Regions from separate parts of the Homo sapiens genome. Here region 1 is linked to region 2. The links are contacts of gene promoters, found by promoter capture Hi-C in blood cells and fetal thymus (Javierre and others, 2016). All regions are on one chromosome and are shown on one strand. The core of a region is centred on a gene start or on the middle of the fragment in contact, and the rest is flanking DNA. Distances in the headings are between cores, read along the strand shown. Region 1 has its middle 88 kb from the start of NTNG2. Region 2 holds the start of UCK1 (uridine-cytidine kinase 1).

Region 1 (4,638 bases), core at 43-2,542, 720 kb before region 2:
TATTACTACAATCTCTCATCTCTCCACACAGGGAGAAAAACCCACAGATCCTGTAGGGCTGGTCCCTACAGGTCTTGAACTCCTGACCTCAGGTAATCCTCCTGCCTCGGTCTCCCAAAGTGCTGGGATTATAGGCGTGAGCCACCGCGCCCAGCCGGCATAATGTTTTTAAGTTCACCCACATCGTAGGTGTATCAGTGCTTCATGCCTTTTTCTGACTGAATCACAGTCCACTGTGTGGCTGTACAGCATTTTGTTTATCCATTCATTAGTTGATGGATAGTTGATGGACAATTTATTTCCCAAATGTGGCTTTTGTGCTGTTTTCCCAGTAGCCTTTGGTTATTGTGAATCGTGCCACTGTGAGCATTTGTGTACAAGCTTTTGTTTGAATACCTTCTTTCCATTCTTTGAGGACCTGTACTAGGAGCAGAACTGCTGGATCTTATGTGAATTCTGTTTGACTTTTTGAAGAATTGGTCCCCATGATTTTAAAGATAGACAAGGTAGTTGTCAATGTTTGAAAATCCAAAGGTTGACATTAAACTTGAGATTTCTGGTTTTTCTTGAAACATCTAGAGCAGGGGTCCCCAACCCCCAGGCCACAGACCAGTACCGGTCCATGGCCTGCTAGGAATGGGGCCACACAGCAGGAGGCGAGTGGCAAGTGAGCATCACTGCCTGAGCTCCACCTCCTGCCAGATTCATAGGACATGAACCCTATTGTCAACTGTGCATTCAAGGGATCTAGGTTGCATGCTGCTTATGAGAATCTAATGCCTGATGATCTGAGATGGAACAGTTTCACCTGAAAACCATCCCCCACTCTGATTATTTATCGGAAAATTGTCTTCCACGAAACTTGTCCCCAGGGAAATGCTGATCTAAAGAACCAGCAACACCAGGGCTTACGTCCCCCTGACACGTCAGTCTGAACTGAGGCTGCTTCTCACTCAAGACTTCCCTTGGCTGCCCCAGTGGCTGGCACAGGGCTGTCCAGCGTGGCACGCACAGCAGTACACATTTGCCGTTGGCCAAGCAGGCAGCTGGCTGGCTGGGGGTGGGCCCAAATGTCTCCACTCATAGGTTTCCTGCTACCCCAGAGCTCTGCCCCTATGTGCACCATGGGACTGTGGGTATTTGTGGCCGGTCTTCCAAGAGGGGTCACAGAGGCTGCCTGATAGCTTCTGTGGCCCCAGGGGGCCCCAGGAGGTGAGGCTGGGTATCTCCAGCCCTGCTCAGGGCCTCCCCAACCCCGCCATGGGCTTAAGGGGCGTGCCCCCCAGAGCCTGCACACTCCTTCTAGGCCACCCAGGATCAGAGCCTGGGTAGGGTGACTGGTTGGGGAAGCCAGGCCCAGCCACCCCACCACGTGCTGGCCACAGCTGGAGGAGTCCAAGGGTACAGATTTGAGCCCAGCCTTTCAGGTCACTGTGAAGGGATTGCTTGTCTAGGACTGGCTGAACTTTATTCAACAGCTTGATGGGCGGCTTTAAATATCCAGACACGTGGTACAGGAGCCTCCATCTGTGCTCTTGTCCTAGCCCTGGAAATGCAGGGGGCGCCGTGTTGACACCCAGAGGTCGGGATCCTGGTCTCCGGGGTTAGCGCTGCCTGGCTGTGTAAAACTCGAGTCACAGGTCTCAAAGCCACCCCGTCAAAGGCATTGTCCAGGCCTGTACTCCCCAGCACTGCAAGCCTGGCCTGGGCTGTGGGGGCCACCAGGAGCCCCGTCCTCAACTTATAGGCCCATCTTCTCCACGGGTCCCTTGCAGGCTCAGCTTCTTGGGAATTGGCCCTGCCTGGCCCTCATGTTCCTGCTGGGCCAAGCCAGGGGGCCCATGCGTCCTTTCTTGGGCATGGGGAGACCTCTGAAGGCAGGTGGCACAGTCAGCTGTGCCTGCTAGAAGGGCGCTGGAAACTCCATTTCCTGGTTCCCAACTGTCCCATTCACGCCCCACCTCCCCAGTCCTGTGAGCCTCCCTCTGCCCTCATCCCCTACCCCCCAAACAACCCCATCCCCAATCTTAAGCCCTCTGTGGGCAGGAGGGGAAAGGGGAAGGAGGTGTCCGGGTGTTTGAGGAACAGGCACCGAGGTTTCTGGGGCCTGCTGAGTCAGGCCGGGCTTGGCCAGGTGAGGGTGGTGGGGTGGGCAGGGGCTTCGGGAGTCTTCCTGGTCCTTCTTGTTGGCACAAAAGCTTGGGCCCCTCTGCAGATTACAAAGAATCTCAATCCTGCCTGGTGTGTAAGGCAGGTGGCAGCGAGGGGCCCACCGGGAGCTCCGGGAGGGCAGAGCCTGTGTCTGTCTGGTTCACTGGGCCAGGCTGGTCACGTTGAGGTGCTCAGGAATATGATGAGTGAGAAAGGAGGTGTGAGTGAGCCTGAACCCTCCTAGCAGGTTTTGGGGAGGGGGCACAGAGGAAACAAAGCAATCACAGCAGCTGACACTTAGGGATGGCTGACTTGGTGCCAGGCCCTGTTCTAAACACTGCGCGGCTCAACTCATTCACTCCTCACAACGGCCCCACCCTGCAGGCGCTATTTTTAACATCCCCATTTCACAGATGAGATGGCCAAGGCACAGAGAGACTGAGGAACTTGCCCAAGGATGTATAGTTGGCAGGTGTGGGGTACAGCTTCAAGCCCAAATCAGGTTCCAGAGCTCACCGTCCTTCTGCCTGAGGAGCTGCCCTCCCCTTCAGGGGCAGAAATGCGGGCACTGGGTCAGCAGTGAAAGGCACGAGCTCCCAGGACTCTGGGCCTCACTCCAGCTACTCCTGGCTGGGTCCCAAGGGCCACCTGCTCCATCATCCAGGGAGAGAGCCTCTGGCTGGAAGCCATCTGGAGCACTTTGGCCGCAGGTGCCTCCACCTGGCCGCCCCTGTGGGGCAGCAAGGTCTCCTGTGCCACCAGGAGCACAGGCACTGGGCCAGACCCTGAGGTGTCAGAAGGGTACATGGCAACCCCCTGCCCTGGGAGCCAGAGTCCCACTGCCAGCCGGCCCAGGCTGGGAGGGGAAGAGGGTGAGAGGCTGGGCAAAAAATGAAAGGTGGGGCTTTGCATTTCTTTTTGTTTTTTTTTGAGACGGAGTCTCCCTCTGTCACCCAGAGGAGTGCAGTGGCATGATCTAGGCTCACTGCGACCTCCGCCTCCCGGGTTCAAGCGATTCTCCTGCCTCAGCCTCCCGAGTAGCTGGGATTACAGGCACCTGCCACCACGCCCAGCTAATTTTTGTATTTTTAGTAGAGACGGGGTTTTGCCATGTTGGCCAGGCTAGTCTGGAAGTCCTGACCTCAAGTGATGCGCCCGCCTTGGACTCCCAAAGTGTTAGGATTACAGGCATGAGCCACTGTGCCTGGCCTTGCATTTCTTTTTTCTTTTATTATTATTATTATTTTTGAGATGGAGTCTCACTCTTGTCACCTAGGCTGGAGTGCAATGGCATGATCTCAGCTCACTGCAACCTCTGCCTCCTGAGTTCAAGCGATTCTCCTGCCTCAGCCCCCTGAGTAGCTGGGATTACAGGCACCTGCAGCCACGCCCAGCTATTTTTTATATTTTTAGTAGAGAAGGGGGTTTCACCTTGTTGGCCAGGTTGGTCTCGAACTCCTGACCTCAGGAGATCCATCCACCTCGGCCTCCCAAAGTGCTGGGATTGTGGGCGTGAGCCACCACGCCCGGCCTCTCTTTTATTTTAAAAGGCCTCCTTTGATAGTCTAGATACAGTGCTAAGTTTTATATAGCAGGCTAAAGAAGGATGTGTATACGATGAGGCCATTGTTGTTAAAAATAAATAAGATAAATAAATAAAGGGAAAAAATAAAATAAAAAAAGGTGCAGGGCTGTGCAGCCTGCCCAAGAGAGTGCATTTGAATCCTGGCCTCTGGCTCTTCCTGGCTGTGCGACCCCGGGCAACTTACACACCCGCTCCGTGGTGGACATTCTTTCTTTGTTTTCTTCCTCTGGTTGAGGAAACAGAGCCCACCCCCCCTTGCTGGAGTGGCAAATGCTGGACTGGAGGGTGCGGGTGCGTGGTGGGGGCTGTGGTGGGGAGGCCAGCAGGGGGTAGCCCTGGGGGTGAGGGATGTGCCCAGGGCAGCGCCCAAGGCAGCATCTGAAGCTCTGGCTCTCCAGCCACCCTGGGCGGGATACTGGGTGCCCTTCCTGACTCCACTTTACCTCCTCTTTTTTGTTTTTTTGTTTGTTTTTGAGATGGAGTTTTGCTCTTGTTGCCCAGGCTGGAGTGCAGTGGCACAATCTCAGCTCACTGCAACCTCTGCCTCCCAGGTTCAAGCGATTCTCCTGCCTCAGCTTCCTGAGTAGCTGGGATTACAGGCATGCACCACCATGCCCAGCTAATTTTGTATTTTTAGCAGAAACGGGGTTTCTCTATGTTGGTCAGGCTGGTCTCGAACTCCTGACCTCAGGTGATCCACCCACCTCAGCCTCCCAAAGTGCTGGGATTAGAGGCATGAGCCACTGAGCCCAGCTGTTTGTTTTTTTGAGACGGAGTCTTGCTCTTTGCCCGGGCTGGAGTACAGCGGCGTGATCTCGGCTCACTGCAACCTCCGTCTCCTGGGTTCAAGGGATTCTCCTGCCTCAGCCTCCCAAGTTGGGGGGGGGACTATAGGCATCTGC
Region 2 (5,048 bases), core at 802-3,301:
AGGGGAGCCACTGTGGCCCAGAGGCCTGAGCCGTGTGGGCCCGGGCCTTGTTTACTGGACTGTGGGCTTCCTGGGTGCTGGGCCTGCTCCCAGGGAGTGGCTCCTTCCCAAAGCGTCCCTTTGCCTTGGGAGCGGAACCACGCAATAGCCTGACTGGCCCTGGCAGCCCATGCCTTGTGGCCAGTCACCAGAGAGGGCACACGAGACCCAGGCCAGGGGTATCAGGGACAGCCCCTGGTCAGACTCTGCTAGTTTCCCTGCCTTTCGCTACGTGGCTGGACCACAGGGGAAGAAATGGCAAGAAACCGTGTCTAACTCTCCCTTGATACAAATTCAAAGTTGGCTTGGGGGATGGCCACCTTTGGGACACACACCTGGACAGATCTAAGCCAGCAGCGTGGCTGTTTGCTAGGCACTGTTCTGTGCCTGGGGCTTAATTTACAGAGGTACGGCTGAATGACCATGAGGAGAGGCCAAAGCCATCGCAAGATTGATCGCATTTCCTGAGAGAAGGGGCACCCATGCCATGCACGGTTCTCAGTAGAGAACCCCAGGTTTGGTCAGGAGGCAGAAGCAGGGGCGAGGGGAGAGCCCAGGCCTGAGGCTTTCTTGGGGTTTCCATGGAAAAGGCCTGGCAGGGCAGGGAAAGAGTTTAAAATTGGCTAGTTTGAGTAATTCTAGCAGGCTCTGGGCTGCAGAGTGGTCTCTAGTCACCTGATACCTGGCCCTGGGTGACTTAGGGCAGGGAGAATCTTGCCTCCAAAGGCGAGAATTAGATAAGGAGGTAGCTGGGGCTGTAGACTTGGGGTCTTTTTTTTTTTTTTTTTTTTTTTTGAGACAGAGTCTCACTCTTTCCCCCAGGCCGGAGTGCAGTAGCGTGATCTTGGCTCACTGCAAGCTCCACCTCCCGGGTTCACACCATTCTCCTGCCTCAGCCTCCCGAGTAGCTGGGACCACAGGCGCCCGCCACCATGCCCGGCTAATTTTTTGTATTTTTAGTAGAGACGGGGTTTCACCATGTTAGCCAGGATGGTCTCGATCTCCTGACCTCGTGATCCACCCGCCTCGGCCTCCCAAAGTGCTGGGATTACAGGTGTGAGCCACCGCGTCCGCCCGGGGTTGTCTGTTTTGTATATGAAAAGCATGCTCTGCCCCGAGCCTTAGCTATCTCTCTCTCTTTTTTATTTTTGAGACGGAGTCTTGCTCTGTGGCCCAGGCTGGAGTGCAGTGGCACCATCTCGGCTCACTGCAACCTCCACCTCCCGGGTTCAAGCGATTCTCCTGCCTCAGCCTCCCAAGTAGCTGGGATTACAGGCGCCCGCCACCACGCCCAGCTGATTTGTTGCATTTTTAGTAGAGGCGGGGTTTCACCGTGTTCGCCAGGATGGTCTCGATCTCCTGACCTCGTGATCTACCCGCCTCAGCCTCCAAAAGTGTTGGGATTACAGGCGTGAGCCACCGCGCCCGGCTGGAAATCCATAATTTCAATGGATCAGAATTTGCCTGTCACGTTCTCTGTGCCAGGCACGGAGCGGGGGGGCGGCAGGGATGGAACCCGGCACATGGGCCTCTGCCTCCTTGGCGCGCTGTAGGCGCGAGCCTAAAGTCATCAGGCGACAGCCCCCGCCACGTTCCGGGGCGCCCCGACGGCTCCAGCAGCGGGTGGGGTGGGAGGCGTCCGGACAGTCCGGAGGCCTCGATGGCCAAGAGGAGCCTGGGCTGGAGGGGGCCAGGCCCGGGGGCGGCCGGGGGAGGGCCCGGGACTGGCGCAGAGGCAGCGCGAGGCAGAGGCAAGCACTCGGACGAAGGCGCAGCCCCAGCCTCGGGGTGCGGAACGGGCACCTTCCGGGCCACTTGAGTCTGAGACCTTGTAGCCGGCTCGAGGCCCGGGCGCAGCAGTCCCTGCCAGCCAGCTTTCGGCGCAATGGGACGCGGGCGCTCCTGGTGTGCCGGCCTCGGGCCCTGCACCCTCACGCATGCGCGGCCCCCCCCCCCCCGGTGGACTACAACTCCCGGCGTGCCCCGCGCGCCTCCCGGAAGTGATCGCTCCGGTTGCCTCCGACCTCGGCGCTGGGCGGGCGCGCCGGGCCTGGGGAAGGGGCGGGCGCGGGGACCCGATGCGCGGGAGCGGAGGCCGAGATGGCTTCGGCGGGAGGCGAAGACTGCGAGAGCCCCGCGCCGGAGGCCGACCGTCCGCACCAGCGGCCCTTCCTGATAGGGGTGAGCGGCGGCACTGCCAGCGGGAAGGTAAGGGGCCGAGCGGGCCGGGGTCTCGCCTCTCGCCGGTGCCTACGGGCGGCCCGGTCCAGAGAGGAGACCCCAGCCCCGGCCGAGGGGCCCCCTGCCAGGCAGGGGCAGGGCGCGGGAGCGAAGGGGCTGCAGGCCGCGATGGGCCGGGGCGGGCTGGGGCGGGCGAGGGGTTGGGGCGCTGGGCCTCGGGGCTCCCCCACAGCCTCTCCGCCGGCCGGGCTCCTCGGAGCCCCAAGTCCGTGCTAACCCCGTTGGGCCCCCGCGGCCCTTCCGCTGAGACCATCCACACCTGTTGGTGTCCTCCCGCCTTCCGAGCATACCCCCCAGGGGGCGGGTGGGTCAGTGTCTCCAGAAGCCGGCCCCGTGCCTGTCACAGGACGAGCGGTTCCAGGCGGGAATCCCGCTTCTGTGTCTCCAGTCGACCGTGTGTGAGAAGATCATGGAGTTGCTGGGACAGAACGAGGTGGAACAGCGGCAGCGGAAGGTGGTCATCCTGAGCCAGGACAGGTTCTACAAGGTCCTGACGGCAGAGCAGAAGGCCAAGGCCTTGAAAGGACAGTACAATTTTGACCATCCAGGTAAATCGCGAGCCCAACGATGTGGGGAGGGCAGACCCCATTCTGGGCGGCCGCTAACCAGCTGCGCTTGGGCCCAAGGTTGGATGGATGCAGACCCGCTTGGGCTGTTCCCCCAACTCGCCACGCAGCCTGCAGTGGAGTTGGCTGCACAGTGAAGTCAGGGGAACTTTGCTGAGTTCTCTGGGCCCTGAGTGTCCCCCCAGGAGCGTGGTTGGAGCCAGTCAGGAAGCCTGTTGCACTGTGGGGAGCCCTGCCCTGCCCTGCCACAACTGTGATCCTGGAGAAATCCTCCCATCTTCCCTTCCCACGTTGGGGCCTTTAGGGCCCTCCACACACACCTCTGCCCACTGTGCCCTCCCGTGCTTTGGGGCAAAGTCCTCAGAGAGGCCAGTGTGGGAGGCGGTAGGTAAACTAGTGCTGGTGGCTTGAAGCTCCGGGCCAGGTAAACGGGCAGATGCGGCAGGGAGACACCTGCCACTGCTAGAAGATTCCACCCTGGCTGGCTGGCATGGTCAGCCTTTTCCCAAGGACTTGTGGGAAGAAGGCCTGCAAAGCCGCAGTCTAACCAGTTAGTCCCAGAAAGAGAGAGAAGCAGAGGCCCAGCCTACCCACCTCCCAGGAAGAGCTGATCAGAAAACCCCTGTGTTCCGGCATCTCAGGGGCACAGAGCTTGGGCAGTGGCACAGCCCGAGAACAGCAAGGACAGGGTCATCCTGTGGTCTGCAGGGCTGCAGAGGGCACTGTTGCTACCAAACATACACTGCCGTAGTCCTAGTCTACCTGTGCTAGGGTTCTCGGTGTCCCCAGCACCCAGCTGTGCTGACCCCAGAGCAGAGAGGGTTCCCTGCTGTCCGCTGCACGAGGGCATCTGCCTGTCTTGCCTTTGTCTCCAACCCTGCAGATGCCTTTGATAATGATTTGATGCACAGGACTCTGAAGAACATCGTGGAGGGCAAAACGGTGGAGGTGCCGACCTATGATTTTGTGACACACTCAAGGTAAGCAGGTGGTTCTAGGGAGGGCCGAGGAGAGGGGCCAGCTAGGACGTCCCCTCGGGCTCACACAGACCTGCCTGGCGGCAGGCCTCCCCCGGTTGGTTTCTGTGGGTCCCCCACCCCTTCCCACAGTCAGTGTCCCTGCAATGGAAGCTGACTGTGTGTGTGGCCTGGAGACCCTGTGTCTGCAGCAGAGCCCCTTTCCCCGTGCGCCCCTCAGGTTACCAGAGACCACGGTGGTCTACCCTGCGGACGTGGTTCTGTTTGAGGGCATCTTGGTGTTCTACAGCCAGGAGATCCGGGACATGTTCCACCTGCGCCTCTTCGTGGACACCGACTCCGACGTCAGGCTGTCTCGAAGAGGTAAGGCGGCCGCGGGCCTCCGTGCCTGCCTGGCCGAGGCTGGCGGCAGGTCCTGAGGTCTGAAGCACGCCTGCCCCTTGCCGCTGCAGTTCTCCGGGACGTGCGCCGAGGGAGGGACCTGGAGCAGATTCTGACGCAGTACACCACCTTCGTGAAGCCGGCCTTCGAGGAGTTCTGCCTGCCGGTACCTGTGCTCGCTGCTTCAGAGCCCATTTTCCCCTTTCACAAGGACACATGGGACCCAGTACTGTGAGAGGGCTTAGTGCTGGGTGACAGTGATCTGATTGAAAAAAAGGAGAAGAATTTGGCTCATTATGGCCACATACCCTGGGAGTAGTTCTCAGCTGTAAAAACATTCTCTGTGCCTGCTCCTCCCTCTGCCTAAAAAAGCCCCATATCTCCCCCACATTCACACTGGCCGCTTCCTCCCTGCCTCAGGCCCTTGCCCAGCGTCCCCATTCAACACTGAAAACCCTCTGCACCCAGCGCCAGCCTCTCTGCCTGCTTCCTTTTTCCGGGGCACTTACCATCATCTGACACGTCCTGGGTGCTTATTCCCCGCAGAGTGGGGAAGCCCAGGAGCACTTTAGTCTGTTCACTGCCAAGGCCGGGATCTGGCCCTCAGAAGGTGCTTCAGAGCTGCTCCTCCAGGGTCTGTGACCCCAGGCTGCTCTGGGCCAGTGCTCTGAAATCTTGGAGTGAGCGCTGTGCCCAGATCCCAGCTGGCTCGCAGAGAGCAGGAACTCCCCGCTGCACACCCACCTGTCTTTTCTCCATTTCTCCATCTTGTGTTTCTGGCTTGGTGGGACTCGTGGCTCTACTCAAATGGGAGTGTTTTGCACGGGAACATTTTGCCTGTTAA

The links. Contacts are between HindIII fragments. The CHiCAGO score rates a contact against its expected background, and 5 or more counts as called.
Region 1: a contact is called between a fragment that was not itself captured here and the fragment with the promoter of UCK1 in region 2, in 2 of 17 cell types (M0 macrophages and total CD8 T cells). The highest score is 5.6, in M0 macrophages.

What each region holds. Positions count from the first base shown.
Region 1 is chr9:132,247,516-132,252,153 of GRCh38, reverse strand. No RefSeq gene overlaps it. Among named protein-coding and RNA genes, the nearest start is that of NTNG2, 88 kb to the right of the region's middle. The HindIII fragment of the contact is 1,817 bases long and covers 384-2,200 here.
Region 2 is chr9:131,528,266-131,533,313 of GRCh38, reverse strand. It overlaps UCK1 (uridine-cytidine kinase 1), which reads left to right and starts at 2,051. Exons shown (of 7, transcript NM_031432.5): 1 at 2,051-2,247; 2 at 2,669-2,828; 3 at 3,730-3,826; 4 at 4,044-4,186; 5 at 4,276-4,370. The coding sequence starts at 2,140. RefSeq lists silencers at 1,646-1,815, 1,956-2,315, 2,516-2,565 and enhancers at 1,981-2,894, 3,600-4,799. The HindIII fragment of the contact is 8,496 bases long and covers 1-5,048 here.